5 separate regions of the Homo sapiens genome follow, and regions 1, 2, 4 and 5 are each linked to region 3. The links are contacts of gene promoters, found by promoter capture Hi-C in blood cells and fetal thymus (Javierre and others, 2016). All regions are on one chromosome and are shown on one strand. The core of a region is centred on a gene start or on the middle of the fragment in contact, and the rest is flanking DNA. Distances in the headings are between cores, read along the strand shown. Region 1 overlaps SESN1 (sestrin 1). Region 2 overlaps FOXO3 (forkhead box O3). Region 3 holds the start of ARMC2 (armadillo repeat containing 2). Region 4 overlaps FOXO3 (forkhead box O3). Region 5 overlaps SESN1 (sestrin 1).

What was found. Contacts are between HindIII fragments. The CHiCAGO score rates a contact against its expected background, and 5 or more counts as called.
Region 1: a contact is called between a fragment that was not itself captured here and the fragment with the promoter of ARMC2 in region 3, in 1 of 17 cell types (total CD8 T cells). The highest score is 5.6, in total CD8 T cells.
Region 2: a fragment that was not itself captured here is called in contact with the fragment with the promoter of ARMC2 in region 3 in 1 of 17 cell types (megakaryocytes); the score reaches 5.3 in megakaryocytes.
Region 4: a fragment that was not itself captured here is called in contact with the fragment with the promoter of ARMC2 in region 3 in 3 of 17 cell types (M0 macrophages, monocytes and M2 macrophages); the score reaches 5.7 in M0 macrophages.
Region 5: a fragment that was not itself captured here is called in contact with the fragment with the promoter of ARMC2 in region 3 in 1 of 17 cell types (megakaryocytes); the score reaches 5.1 in megakaryocytes.

What each region holds. Positions count from the first base shown.
Region 1 is chr6:109,023,452-109,026,252 of GRCh38, reverse strand. All of the region lies in intron 1 of SESN1 (sestrin 1), which reads left to right. It also overlaps a transcript of ARMC2 not described here. Among named protein-coding and RNA genes, the nearest start is that of SESN1, 70 kb to the left of the region's middle. The HindIII fragment of the contact is 1,177 bases long and covers 830-2,006 here.
Region 2 is chr6:108,600,938-108,603,637 of GRCh38, reverse strand. The region is part of intron 1 of FOXO3 (forkhead box O3); the gene reads right to left. Among named protein-coding and RNA genes, the nearest start is that of FOXO3, 41 kb to the right of the region's middle. The HindIII fragment of the contact is 167 bases long and covers 1,243-1,409 here.
Region 3 is chr6:108,847,146-108,849,862 of GRCh38, reverse strand. ARMC2 (armadillo repeat containing 2) reads right to left here and starts at 1,441. Exons shown (of 18, transcript NM_032131.6): 1 at 1,317-1,441. RefSeq lists a silencer at 1,084-1,183. The HindIII fragment of the contact is 2,745 bases long and covers 1-1,666 here.
Region 4 is chr6:108,619,807-108,622,506 of GRCh38, reverse strand. All of the region lies in intron 1 of FOXO3 (forkhead box O3), which reads right to left. Among named protein-coding and RNA genes, the nearest start is that of FOXO3, 60 kb to the right of the region's middle. The HindIII fragment of the contact is 2,327 bases long and covers 170-2,496 here.
Region 5 is chr6:109,051,923-109,054,622 of GRCh38, reverse strand. The region is part of intron 1 of SESN1 (sestrin 1); the gene reads left to right. It also overlaps a transcript of ARMC2 not described here. Among named protein-coding and RNA genes, the nearest start is that of SESN1, 42 kb to the left of the region's middle. The HindIII fragment of the contact is 3,317 bases long and covers 1-2,700 here.

The sequences.
Region 1 (2,801 bases), core at 169-2,668, 180 kb before region 3:
GTTGGTGGTAGATTCTTAGTTTTTGTCTCTTAAAATGTGTTTCTTTCACTTTATGAAAGATAGTTTCATGTGTTAAATACAGTTCAACAATGATATTTTCTCTCAATATTTTGATCCTCTGGCTTCCATTCTTTAAAATTAGGCTGTCAGCTTAGTTTTCCCTTTGTAGGTAATCTGACTTTTCCCTTTCATGGACTTTAAGATCTCTTTCCTTGAAATTTTTCAGTTTTACTGTAGGCCAAGGTATAATTTTTTTAAGTTATTCTGCATGAGATTCATTGTGCTTCCTGAAAAAAAAAAAGAGTATTGGTGTCTTTAATCTGTTCTGGATAATCCTTAACCATCGTGTCTTAGAATATTACCTTTGTCCTATTCTTTCTGTTTTCTCCTTCCAATTATATATGTATTAGACCTTCTATTTCATCTTAACATGTCTTTTATTTTCTCTCTCATAAATTTCATTTCTTTGCTGTATGTGCTATATTCTGGACTCTTCAGATTTACTTTCTAGTTTACTAATAATTTTCAGCTATACTGAGTATGCTGTTTATTGAATTTTAAGTTTTAATTATTATAAAAACTATTTCATTCATTTTCAAATCTGTCTAGTTATTTTTTGATAGTTTCCTGTTTCTCACCCATACTTTCTATTTCCTTTAAAGTTTTAAAAAGCATATTGAACTGGCCTTCTGTATCTAGTATCCAAAGTCTTTGCAGATGATTTCTGGCAGTCAGACTGCATCTGACTTTGCAGTCTTAGGTGATTATTGTTTCCTGTAGTCCTCACTAATGGCATCTTTTTGCATAGTACTTTTTATTATTGTAAGCTTATATTCATTGGAATTGTATCTCCTTCAGAGAAAATCTCTATTTATTTCTAACTGGAACCTGGGGGACATAACCAGCCCACTTTATACTAAATATTTACCTTGCTTTTAAGAGCAGGTAGGTAATAAGGGAATTCATCCCCCACCTCCTTATGTGTGATCCACCTTGTGTTTATGAATATTCAGGGGAGATTTTACCCCTTCCACCAAGAATAAACCTTAAAACAGGCAAATCTTCTGTCTTCTTTTGTAAATGGGGTGTTTTTCCTTGTTCATGCTTTGAGCGTTTAGCCCCTTGGGTTTTGGCTTTATGATGGGGTCTCTGATCTACCTCCCAATTTCCCAAGTCCTAGGATTTGCCTTCTGTTTTCTGTGCTGCTGCTCTAGGTCCCTGGGGATCCACAGCTGCCAGCCTTAGTGCTCACTGTCTCCCTAGACTCCTCCTGTCGGTGGGTTTTGGTTTCTGAGGATTTCTGTTACTTTGCCAGTTCGGCCATTTTAAACAATATTTCTTACACACAGGTCTCCAATTTGTGATAGTTCCACTTAACAATTGTTTGACTTTACTAAGGTGTGTAAGCAACACACATTCAGTAGAAAAATGCTGTGGAAAGTAGTACGATACTCACAATGCTGGGCAGTGGCAGCAAGTGACAGTTCTCAGCCACATAATCACAAAGACAGACAACCAATACTCTACCATGTTGCCAGATGATTTTGCCCAACTGTAGGCTAATGTCAGCATTCTGAGCACATTTATGGTAGTCTAGGCTAGACTATAATGTAGAAGATTTGGTGTATTAAATGCATTTTTTACTTATGATATTTTCAACTTATTGAGTCATAACCCCATTGTAAGTTGAGAAGCATCTGTAGAAATATTTTTAGGTATTTTGTCCAACATGAGTAAGAAGCACTAATATCGAGGTCAGTTTTTAACCTAATCTGGGAGAGGGCGGTGCTGTCAGGGCTTTTTAAGGCTTATAGGACCATTACCCTTATAGAAAATGGCTTCCTGCTACTGTGCTATCCAAGTTCTTATTTCTGCTTTATAGAATTTTTCTGATTCTTCCTTTGTGATTAAGTGCTTCACTATTCCTTTTTTCTCTGCTATCAGTTTAATGGTAGTCCCTATGCCCTAATAAGTTACTATGGACTTAGAAACTAGATAAAGAAGCTTGTTATAATTTTGTACCAAGTAAAAGTAAATTGTCTCTAAGAGAGGCAGGTGAAGGGTTTTCCACTGAATACAGTACATATGCTATGGTATGTAAATTTTGTGACATCTATTTTACATCTTTTTTTTAATTTGTTCTAGATTCATGAGATTGTTTTTTAAAAAGTCAATTGAGATATAATGAAATGTTGCTATATCAATAGTCAACATCTATTTTGGCAAAAATTACTGATTTTCAAATGTGTGGGAAAACATTTTAAGGGTGTGTGTGTGTGATCATTGAATTTCATTCTACAGAAAAAAAAATCACTCATTCTTTGAGTAGGCAGTAACATATTTAGCCACTAAGAACAATCTACAATATTCTCTTATGCTTTAAATATATGAAAGTGACTTTAATAATGATTATTTGACAATGTAAGTCTTCATTTATGTTTTTATATTTTTCCTTTTACATAAAATGTTACATTTTGTTTATGCCAAATGGTAATTTTACTCATTTTATTTTGTTAGATCCAAACCTGTTGCTTTCTCTTTAGTATTCTATGTGCAAAGCCTGTAACATAATGAAAATGCAGTTTAAGTACCTATTTGTATGTGATGTGCCAGTAGTTGTAATTTCAAAGTAAGATAAACATATGTCCCCAAACATACTTCCCCAAATCCTTGCACCTGGGACAGAATGTACTCTTAACATAGACCAAAAGGGACTCATAAATACTCTGTGGTTGTGCCTTAAAACTGAACACAACATAGGCACATCCACTAACATTATTTATAAAAGTATCAAAAAAACA
Region 2 (2,700 bases), core at 77-2,576, 250 kb after region 3:
TTATATTTAATACCTGGAGATCCTCAACTTGTTCTTCAATACTGTATTTTCTTTCCTAGGCCAAAATGTGCGTAAATTTTCTAGACACTTAAAGTTAAAATCACCAATACCATAAGAATCATGATAAACTGGAAAATATGACAAGGAAAAAAAGGAGGGTCCTTTATCATCCCCGAGAAAGTGAAAAGTTTTCATGGCTGATGCTTTACTTGATCCACTTGTTTAATTACACTCATTAGTCTTTAGCTGCAAACATGTAGAAGGTACTTGAATGACTGAATGAATAATTGATTATAAACTTTTAAAAAGAGAAATGCCAGATTCTGCTAGTCTCCTTTATTCATTTATTTGTAAGAATGGGATCCTTCTTTGTCACAGGACACTAATTCAGCACCAGAGAAGTTACTGAGCACAACCTCATCGAAGTCATCCTACCTTCTACTGAAGTGATGAACAGTACAACCATTTTTTGCTGAAACTGGCCTGATTCACCTTAAAAATGGTACCACAGGTAAAAAAGAAAAAAAAAAACTACAGATGAAAACACAAAAAGTGAGGGAAAAAAAGTCTTACATTGAATGAATGTCAGTTTGCCATATTCCACCAGAAAGTAATTTTCAATCCAAAGATTTTTATCTCAGAAAATATAGTATATTTTCCAAGTTTTAGTAGATATGTTATTAACCCTATCTTATTCCTTTCAAAGTTACTGCCTAGTCACAGACAGAAACACTAAAACACTTCAGCATAAAGAGGGAAGAAAAGTATCTCCTACTCTACCTTGTCTTAGCAGTTCCATTAAAAGACCACTTAACTCTCAGCTCTAAGAGCTTCAAAATAGGTTCCTATAATACAAAACACACAGAAAGACACATGTACACAATCATCTATATTGCTTATATTAATCGGCCTTTATAAAAAGTTATCCACATCTATTATAAAAAAATAACCTTTGTTAATAATAAAAGGTTTTTTTTTTTGGTTTGGTTTTAATGCTATTGCTTATGACAGCACACTTGCCTCCTTCTGGATAAATATGAGGGACAAATAACAGACAGCAGCAACATACAAAAACTCAGTGATTTCCTGTAATTCTTTACCCCATTCTAGACCAAATCCTCTGAGGTTCTATGAAGCTGCAGAGTCCCAAACTTCACGCAAAAAACAAGATCTTGGTGGCATCTCTGTTACTCTGAAAGATCTTCTTAGGCCAAGTGGGATTGGAAAACTTACAGTGAAGCTTTAGGTTATGCTGCTACAGGCGTATGGCAGAAATTTACAAAGATTTTTTAAAGTAATAATGCTCTGTGTTGGCAAGGGTATGAGAATGGGCACTTTCATACATTGATGGTAGGAGTTTAGGAAGATTTTAGGAAAGAAAAAAAAGAGTGACTAGAAAAAGCAAAGCTTTAAAATTCTGTATGCTCTCAGACATCAATTCCACTTCTAGAAATAAAAGTAGATATACATTAAGATTTACCTAAAATATTTTCATCAGTGATATTTATAACAGCAGAAAAACTAGGGGGAAAAACCCTTAACAACCCATTTAGAAGAAATCAGCTAAATTAATGAAATATTTATTTCATACAATGAAATATTTTGCCATCATTAAAATGAAGTCATTGGGCATTTATCCCAGAAAAATGAAAATTTACGTTCACATAAAAACCTGTAAATTAATATTCATAGCACAAGGCTTTATTCAAAATAGCCCCAAACTGAAAACAACCCAAATGTCCATTGAGTGATGAGTGAATAAATAAAATGTAACCTAGCCATACAGTGGAACACTACTGAGTAACAAACAGGAACACACTACTGAGATGTGTAACAACTTGGATCCAGGAAATCAGGCTTAATGGAAAAAGTCAATCCCAAAAATCCATATACTGTATGATATAACATGATCACTTATGTAACATTCTTGAAATGACAAAATTATAAAAATGAAGAGCAGATTAATGGTTGCCAGGGGTCAAGTTAGGCAGGGGAAAGGAGGTAGCTGTTGCTATAAGACAGCAATAGAAGGGGGGCTGGGTGCGGTGGCTCACCCCTCTAATCCCAGCCCTTTGGGAGGCCAAGGCAGGTGGATCACCTGAGATCGGGAGTTTAAGACCAGCCTGGCCAACATGGTGAAACTCCGTCTCTACTAAAAATACAAAAATTAGCCGGGCAAGGTGGTGGGCGCCTGTAATCCCAGCTACTCGGGAGGGTGAGGCAGGAGAATCACTTGAAACCAGGAGGCGGAGGCTGCAGTGAGCCGAGATTGTGCCATTGCACTCCAGCCTAGGCAACAGAGCAAGACTCTGTCTCAAAAATAAAATAATAAAAATAAAATGTTTTAAAAAGCACTAGGACACCTTGGGAGGCCGAGGTGGGTGGATCACAAGGTCAGGAGATCGAGACCATCCCGGCTAACACAGTGAAACCCCGTCTCTACTAAAAATGCAAAAAAAAAAATTAGCCGGGCATGGTGGCAGGTGCCTGTAGTCCCACCTACTGGGGAGGCTGAGGCAGGAGAATGGAGTGAACCCCAGAGGCGGAGCTTGCAGTGAGCTGAGATTGCGCCACTGCACTCCAGCCTGGCGGACAGAGCAAGACTCCGTCAGAAAAAAAAAAGACAATAGGAAGGATCCTTGCAGTGATAAGAAATGTTCTGTATCTTGACAGTATCAATGTCAGTATATCCTGGTTGTG
Region 3 (2,717 bases), core at 192-2,691:
TCACAGCCATGTGACCTTAGGCAATGCCTCTAATATCTCTAAGCATCAGTTTCCTCATCTATAAAAGGTGGATAGTAATAATAATTGCCCCATAGGATTGTTTGAAGAATTAAATGATATAATACATGTAAAGTGCGTTAGCACAGTGCTTTAAAAATGTTAACATTTTAAAATATGGCCCTTAAAGATGTTAACAATTATTGCCCAAGTGCTACATGATAAAAGGATACAGCAAAATCATTTCCACGAATGAAAAACTACATTTAAAAAAAGAAATTGCAAAAGAGAGAATGACGTTTGTTCAGTGTTTCTATACATAAGTTTTTTTTTATTATTATACTTTAAGTTCTAGGGTACATGTGCACAATGTACAGGTTTGATACATAGGTATACATGTGCCATGTTGGTTTGCTGCACCCATCAACTCGTCATTTACATTACGTACTTCTCCTTTTAAAAGGTGGGTGGTGGTACTTGCCTTTATGAAAACAGATAATTTTTATTAAGCATTTTATTGAATATCAGCTATGCCAAATCAACATCAACAACCAGAATCCCATAGATTAAGAAACCAGGATAAATATAATAAATGGTGCTTGCTTTTCAACCAAATTAAAGTATAATTATTATAAATCAGGGTGGGACGTAAGATCTGTTGTGTTACTTGTGGGAATGGATCACAAAAGGCATTATGTATACACTCCATGATTTTAAAGTATGTTAAATATTGTTACACATACGTTTTTATTTATTGAGGCCCTGTTGCCTGGAAGTGCCCAGATATAAACTGTATGACTCTGGCCCGGTCACCGCCTGCCTAGACAAAGCCCCTTAGTCTACCACTCTCATTCAACAAATATTACTGGGCTTCTTATTAAGCACCACGCACTTGGCTAAGTGCGACAGTACATAAATAAAAGACAACCGCTCCGGACCCCTGACAGCATGCACAGGGCACTCATCGTCTCTCTACCCCATCCGAGGACACACAGGCGGACGACGGCAGGAAGGGTCCCTGGGGAGCCGCTGGGGACACCTCACCTCCCGCTCGGACAGCGGCTCCCCCACCCACGGCAGTGCCCGCTCCTCCACGGTCCCGGCCAGGGCAGGGCGCAGCAGCATCCTCACCCCGCCCGGCCACCCTCCCACTTCGCCCCGCAGCCAGCGTCTCCATGGTAACCGTACACAAACTACCTCCCGCCGCCGCCCCGGCAGCCAGACCGCAGGGCCAGGCCGCTGCAGGGCGGGAGAGGCGGGCCGGGGAATGAGCTTGGCGAGGGCTCAGGGAAGGAGGCTTCCGACCTGACCCAAAGCACCTGTGATGAGCACTGGAGATAGCAGCGGCTGCGAGGTTCAATTCATCCTCCGGCTCTCCCCGGGTAGCGGCCAGGGATGCAGCGCTGGCGCGGGCGGGGTAACCCCACGACGCCGCTCGGCCACTGGGCCTGCGCGGGTCCCGCCAACGCATGCGTAGAAGCTCCGAGGCGTGGCGACGGCCGGAGCGGGTGGGAGGAGCCTGGAGAGGGCTGTAGGCCGGGAGGTCAGATCAGAGCAGGCGTCGTGGGCGGGTGTCCGCTTTTCGTTTAGCAATTTGCCGAACCACATTTGTTGCTCCCCTGCCGGATCCCAGCACCTCTGTTAAATAACAGCAGGCAGGACGGAAGCTTAATGCTTGTGGGTAAGAAGGATTTACTGGCTCAGGTTAGGGCTCTGTATAACCTGGAGCCACTTGCTGAGCTTCTGTTTCCTCCGATGTCAAGTGGCAGGAAATATTAATAATAGTACCTAGGTAGGTCTTGGGCTGTTATGAAGACTGCATGAGAAAATAGATGTAAAGCGCTATGCACGTGGCAATCAACGAATATTAAACTGTTGGCTGTTATTAAGCCCTTGCATTTGTACAGCCCTTCAGTTCGCAGAGTGTATGCACGTAATCGTACCTTCTGAGTCTGAGGTAGGCAGCCTGGCGTCCCCATCCACAGGAGAGGAACTGGGGGCCTGAGGTGTAGTGAGCAGGAGAAGGAGATTCCAGTCTAGGTCTCCCGTGGCCAATCGTTTTTTGTTCGTGCATCATCACAGTTGAACGGCAAAAAGCACTCCATTTATGTGTTTCTAGTTTAAATTCCCTTTTCTCCTGTTAGACCATTTAGCAACACTGTACAGTGTTAAATAAAAGTGAGATCATAAGCACTCTCCATTCAGGTTTGCACCACGTTTTATAAATATGGAGATTTTCCAGCTGAAGTGCTATTTGTCATCAACACTGGGAAAATGCCACTTCCCTTGGTGCTAAGCATCTTGTAAAGAATAATTAAATTGAAAATATTTTTGAGCACATACTATGTGTAAGGCATCGTGCCAGGTGGGAAATTATACTAACCTGAACTAAAGGAATGTAAATATTCTTCAAAATACTCAAGAGGATTTCAAACATAACAGAAAATAAATACCTATTCGTTGATTGGATAATTTTAGGACCCGAAACAGCCCTGGATTTTTCTGCTCATTCTTAGATAACTGACAGTCTTGTTGTAACTAAATCTCAACCACAGCTTCATTTCAAAACTATAATGTTGGGTGCAAGATATAAACAAATGCATCAAACTTCAAAAAGTCTTCCTCCCCCATTCCAGCCCCAGGCTTAAGGTCTCTAGCTGGCCTTCCCTGAAGGGGTGCACTAGGCTTAGGCTTGTCCCCGACCCCCACCCGCCCCTCTA
Region 4 (2,700 bases), core at 84-2,583, 230 kb after region 3:
GTGGGGGAAACAAATTCTCAACTCAACCAGATCCTTGCAGTAATTCTCCAAGGGGCAAGGACTCCTTCCTCTCATTTGACCCCAAAAGGAAATGTCTGAACAGATCCCTTCTCTCTCCCTGCCCACCCTGATTCAAGGAGATCTCAGGTACAAAGCAAGATAGAAAGCTTCGCTCTCCTGACCCTCCAGCTCTCCAAGAGGAACTTAAGTCTCAGATATCCCTGCCTTTTTTTTTTTTTTTTTTTTTTTTGAGACAGTCTTGCTCTGTCGCCCAGGCTGGAGTGCAGTGGCATGATTTGGGCTCACTGCAACCTCCACTTCCTGGGTTCAAGCGACTCTCCTGCCTCAGCCTCGCAAGTGGCTGGGATGACAGGCATGCGCCACCACACCCAGCTAATTTTTTTGTATTGTTAGTAGAGATGGGCTTTCATCATATTGGCCAGGCTAGGATGGTCTCAAACGCCTGATCTCAAGTGATCCACCCGCCTTGGCCTCACAAAGTACTGGGATTACTAGGTAAGCCACCACTCCCGGCTGCCCCTGCTTCTGTCTTCCCGACTCTCCATACAAAACTTGCCAGTTACTCCTTAGCTGCCTGAGGCCCACAGCCTCCCCTAATGTCACATGAACATGTCTGCACGAGACCCAAGGCCAAGCTCAAGAGGAATTCTTTCTAGTACATCCCTGTCACTAGGCACTACCTACCTGGCAAAGTACTTATGTGGCCTGACTTCAGGAGAGCTACAGACCTCTCACCTTCAATTTTCTCTCCCACATACTTCTGAAACGGACCATGCCACTGTGAGGCTTCAGGTAGGTTTCTCAGCCCTGGCACTACTGGCATTTTGAGCTGGACACATCTGCTGTGGGCCTCTCCTATGCACTGCAGGATATTTAGCACTGCACACCAGCCTGGGTGACAGAGGAAGACTCTGTCTCAAAAAACAAAACAAAACAAAAAAAAACACTAACATGGTGAAAGACTCATCCCAACAATTTTTCACTACAGTAGCTGAGGTACATCATGCACTACACACATACTTGATTCTTTCTTCCAGACGTTGCCTTGTGAATTGGATTTTGAACTGTGCTCCTGCCATGGCCTTAAGAATGACCAAGAAGTCCTTGTGGCTTGATGACATCTGATGTCTTTGAGACTCACACAGCAGGCAGTTGGCAAGGCAGCGGGCTTACTCACACAGGCAGGGGTTCCACGAGTCACCCCAATGACTACAGCCTGAATGAACTGCTGTTCCTCGTGGGCACTCCTAGCTCTGCAGGCAGAGCGAGGACATACAAGCATAGCTTTTAAAGTGCTTAATGGTGATTACACTCGTTTGGTGATTCACTAAGCAGTACAGAATGTGCCCAATTATACACTCTATTTTTTTCCAATCTTATTTCATAAACCCCAATTTCACAGGAACATAGATTTTCCATCCAAACAAAATTATCTAACTTTAACAATTAAAATACTAATTATCCTCAAAATCCTCCTTTGAAATGGGGCTTTAAATAAGATATGACTTAAATAGGCATTTTAATATTTTTGGTTGTATCATTCATTGAAACATCTAAGAAGTGCCTTCATTTTGGATAACGTGGGAGGCTACAGGCAAAGAGAGTATTGAATGTCAGCAATAAAACACTATTCAATAAAAACACCAGTATAGGCTCTGTATCAAATAAAACTTTTATCAAGTAAAAACATTTACGATATTAATTTTCTTCTCCCCTACTCCCACCCCAGGTTAAAAACTACAACTTGAAATCTTTTCATAATAAGCTGCCAACAGCAGCAGCTATTGACTAAGAGAAAGAAAAATAAAAGAAAATTGTTATTACTATAAACAAATTATTCGTTCTTTCCAAGATAAATAATGACTTGATGTTCTCATTCTCACAATCAGAAGCGTGGCTTCATAATACTAATTATCTCAGCTCCACCAGAAAACCATCATGCATTCAAACCCATTTGCTGTGTACAGCCCTACCATCTACCAGCTATAAAGTAATATGGGAGAAATACAGGGGTCCTATCTGCAAAAAGCAGGTCACTTCAGTTTTTGGGAGAAACTTCTGCATCCCACATGGAATAAAAAGATGCCACTTACCACCAGATATTTTCCTACTAAAAAAAATTTTCTCCCTCCTATTTAAGAAAAACGATAGACAAAAATTGTATCATATTAAAGTGTTAAGGGAAAATGATCCACATGTAAAAACAAATCAAAAGGCACATGAAACCACGTTAAGACCTCAAAGACAGGAATTAGTCAATTATATTATGTATTTCTGGGCTCCTGAGTACAAGCATAGTCTGTTTTTCTGACCCAAAAATCTAATAAAAGAATTTATTAACTTAAAGATCTAACAGAGGACACTGTTAGAAATTGGTCTGGGGAAGGCACCATGCTCTTGGCCAAGGAATTATTTAACTCTTCTGCACTAAGAATGGATCTGTGATGATTCACTATGACTACAGCAAATCAAGCTTGGCCCTATCCTTTGAATTTAACCTGTAAGGACAGACAGGTTTAGGATATGAAACCTCAAGAAGATGGTGCCACATCTTAGCTTGCCATGTACAGAAGACTGATTTGCCAGGCTTTGCAACCAAGCTTAAGTGAGATTTAGGCATTAAGACACGCCAAATTAAAACTCTTAAGGACCATTAATCACATCCTCATGACTTCAGAT
Region 5 (2,700 bases), core at 151-2,650, 200 kb before region 3:
CTATTATTTTTTTTGTGCCTACTATCTTAGTAGATTGTCCTTCAGGAGATAATCCTCGTGTAGGTCAGGATGTTATAAAATGAGCTTTCTTATACACTGCTTATAGACATGTAAATTGGTGTAACATAATTTTATCTTTTTATCAGTAATTCCACTTAGGGCAAAAATAATATTTCTTCACAATAGAGCTCTAAAGGAATTCTTTACTGTATTTTTTAAGGATTATAAAAAATCGAGTATAAAAATATTTTTTCACCTTTAGACTGTATCATTCTCTTCTGTTAAACTGAGAAAATTAATGAACTTGTTTTTTCCTTCCTCTTACCTCGTATTTTTGTTAGTCAAGTTATTATTTTAATATTCTTAAGATCTATGACATTTAAGTTCTATTCCATCATCATAACTTTCAGAGTTAGTCTTAGTTTCTATATTTAAGTAAATTTGTTTTTCATCATTGGTATGAATAATCGGCAGAAAATTAAATTGACAATTACTTAGATGTATGTTCAGGGAATTTTTCCCAGATCCCTCCCCCCCCAAAAAATTAAGAAAAAACGAAAAGAAATGTCTTGCCAACAATATTAAAAATATTAAAAAATTGACAAGGGAAAAACTGGGGCAAGAAGTAATTCCAAAATAAAGATGAAAACTACTAAAATTGCACAAAGTAAAGGTAATTGCCCAGACCCAGAAGGCAAACCCAAGCCTCTGTTAAATTTGTCTACATTTGGTTTATCTTAAAGGGTATTCAAAAGCTACCACTTTTAAAATTCCTGAAGTATGCATACTTATTAATACAGATATGATAGGTCCTAGAAAATATTTTCAAAACTGAGCGAGTGTTCGTCCTTCTAGTTCTTGTTTCATGAGATCCAACCTTTATGAATTTTCTTTCCCTTAAGTGTTTGAATTTCAGATAAAAGCAGTGAAAGCGTCTAATGCCTTCTCATTGCATTTAGGAATGCCAGAGTCCTTCATGTGGCCCATGAGGGCTTTCACTGGCCCAGCCTCATCTCCCAGTCTCATCTCCATATTTCCCATTACTTTCTGTGTCCTTACTTAGTTCACTGGCTTTGTTACTGCTGTTGTTCCCACTTTAATTTATAGCAGCCTCTCCTGTCTTGGGGCTTTCTCATGTTTCTCAGTCTGCATGGAATGTTCTCTCTTCCCCTCCCCCACACCATGCTTTATTAACACCAGCTTATCCTTTATATCTTAGTATAATTGTCAGTTATGCAGGGAAGTGGGATATGTGGCATATGACTTAAGCGCTCTGTTGTCTTATTGTTTGGGTTTTCATCCCAGTTCATTATTTACTGGCTGTATAATCTTAAGTTATTTGACTTATCTCTGAGCCCCAATTTCTTTATCTGTAAGGTGAAGGAAGATAATTCTTACTCATAAGATGCTGTGATTATCAAATAAGAAAATGAGAGAAGCCATATGTTTCCAACACAAGGCTTCACTAGCATTGAATGAAGTACTTCTTAAATGTTAGACAAAATTATTCCCAACCTACCTCCTACCCCCAATTCCCTGCTGTGCACACACGCACGCACACACACACACACACACATCCTAGTCTTGAACAGCTCCTTTTATTGAATAGTGACGTATATGACCATATACCTCTTATTCCTAACATTTACAACTTTCAATTACTTTATTGATTGTTTGATTAATGTCTGTCTCCCTTGACTAGATTATAAGCTCTACGGGGTAGCAGCTGTGTAGTTTTGCTCATCCTATTCTCAGTACTTAGTCTGGATTAAGTCAACAATAAATATTTGTCGAGTGTAGGGACAAATGAATGAACTAAAGGAATATTCTGTCTCGTCTCAAAACTGCATACTTAATGGTTGAAATGTTTCCTGTAGTATAGTTTTGCCTTTAAGCCTATAAATCACAAATTCAATATCAATGACTAGAGAATAATCTACTGCCAGTAACTTATATAAAACCTGCTTGTCAATAAAAATTGTTTTCAGGCCTTTTGGAATGTTTAAATATAACATTTAAAAAGTACATAATGAATACTCTCATTTTCAATAACATTGGGAAAGGATTATATTAAAACTTTAAGTGAACATTGAAGTCTAGATAAACTATTTTAAGTAATGTTTGATCTCAGCTGTCTAAAAATATACATAAGAAAGAGAACTGAAAGTAAATATACCAGTGTGTTATAATAGCAGTGGCTTTCTTTGAGTGGTAGGATTATGATCAATTTTAATCATTTTGTGTCTATGCTTATATATTTATATCAATATAGTCTTCACTTTTACAGTAAAACATTGCTTTATAATAACAAAAATTATCTTTAAAATTTTCTCAAATATTTCTGGAATTTATAGAGGGAAACTTCATTCATTTATCTAACAATTATTTACTGAGCAACTACAAAGTGCCAGGCACTGTTTTAGGCTAAGAGGATGAGATTATAATAAAATAAGCAACAATTCCTTTCTTTGTTGAATTTTCATTTTGATGTATTTGCAGCTACCTGTCTGACTTTGGTTTGAAACTTATCTTCTACATCTGTCTTATTAAAAGTAATGGCAAAAACCTCAATTACTTTTGCACCAAGCTAATAAGCCATTGTTGTCTGCTGTGGTTTGAATGTGTCACTCCAAAATTTGGGTGCTGTCAATGTGATAGTATTAAGAGGTGGGGTCTTTAAAAGGTGATTAGGCCAGAGGG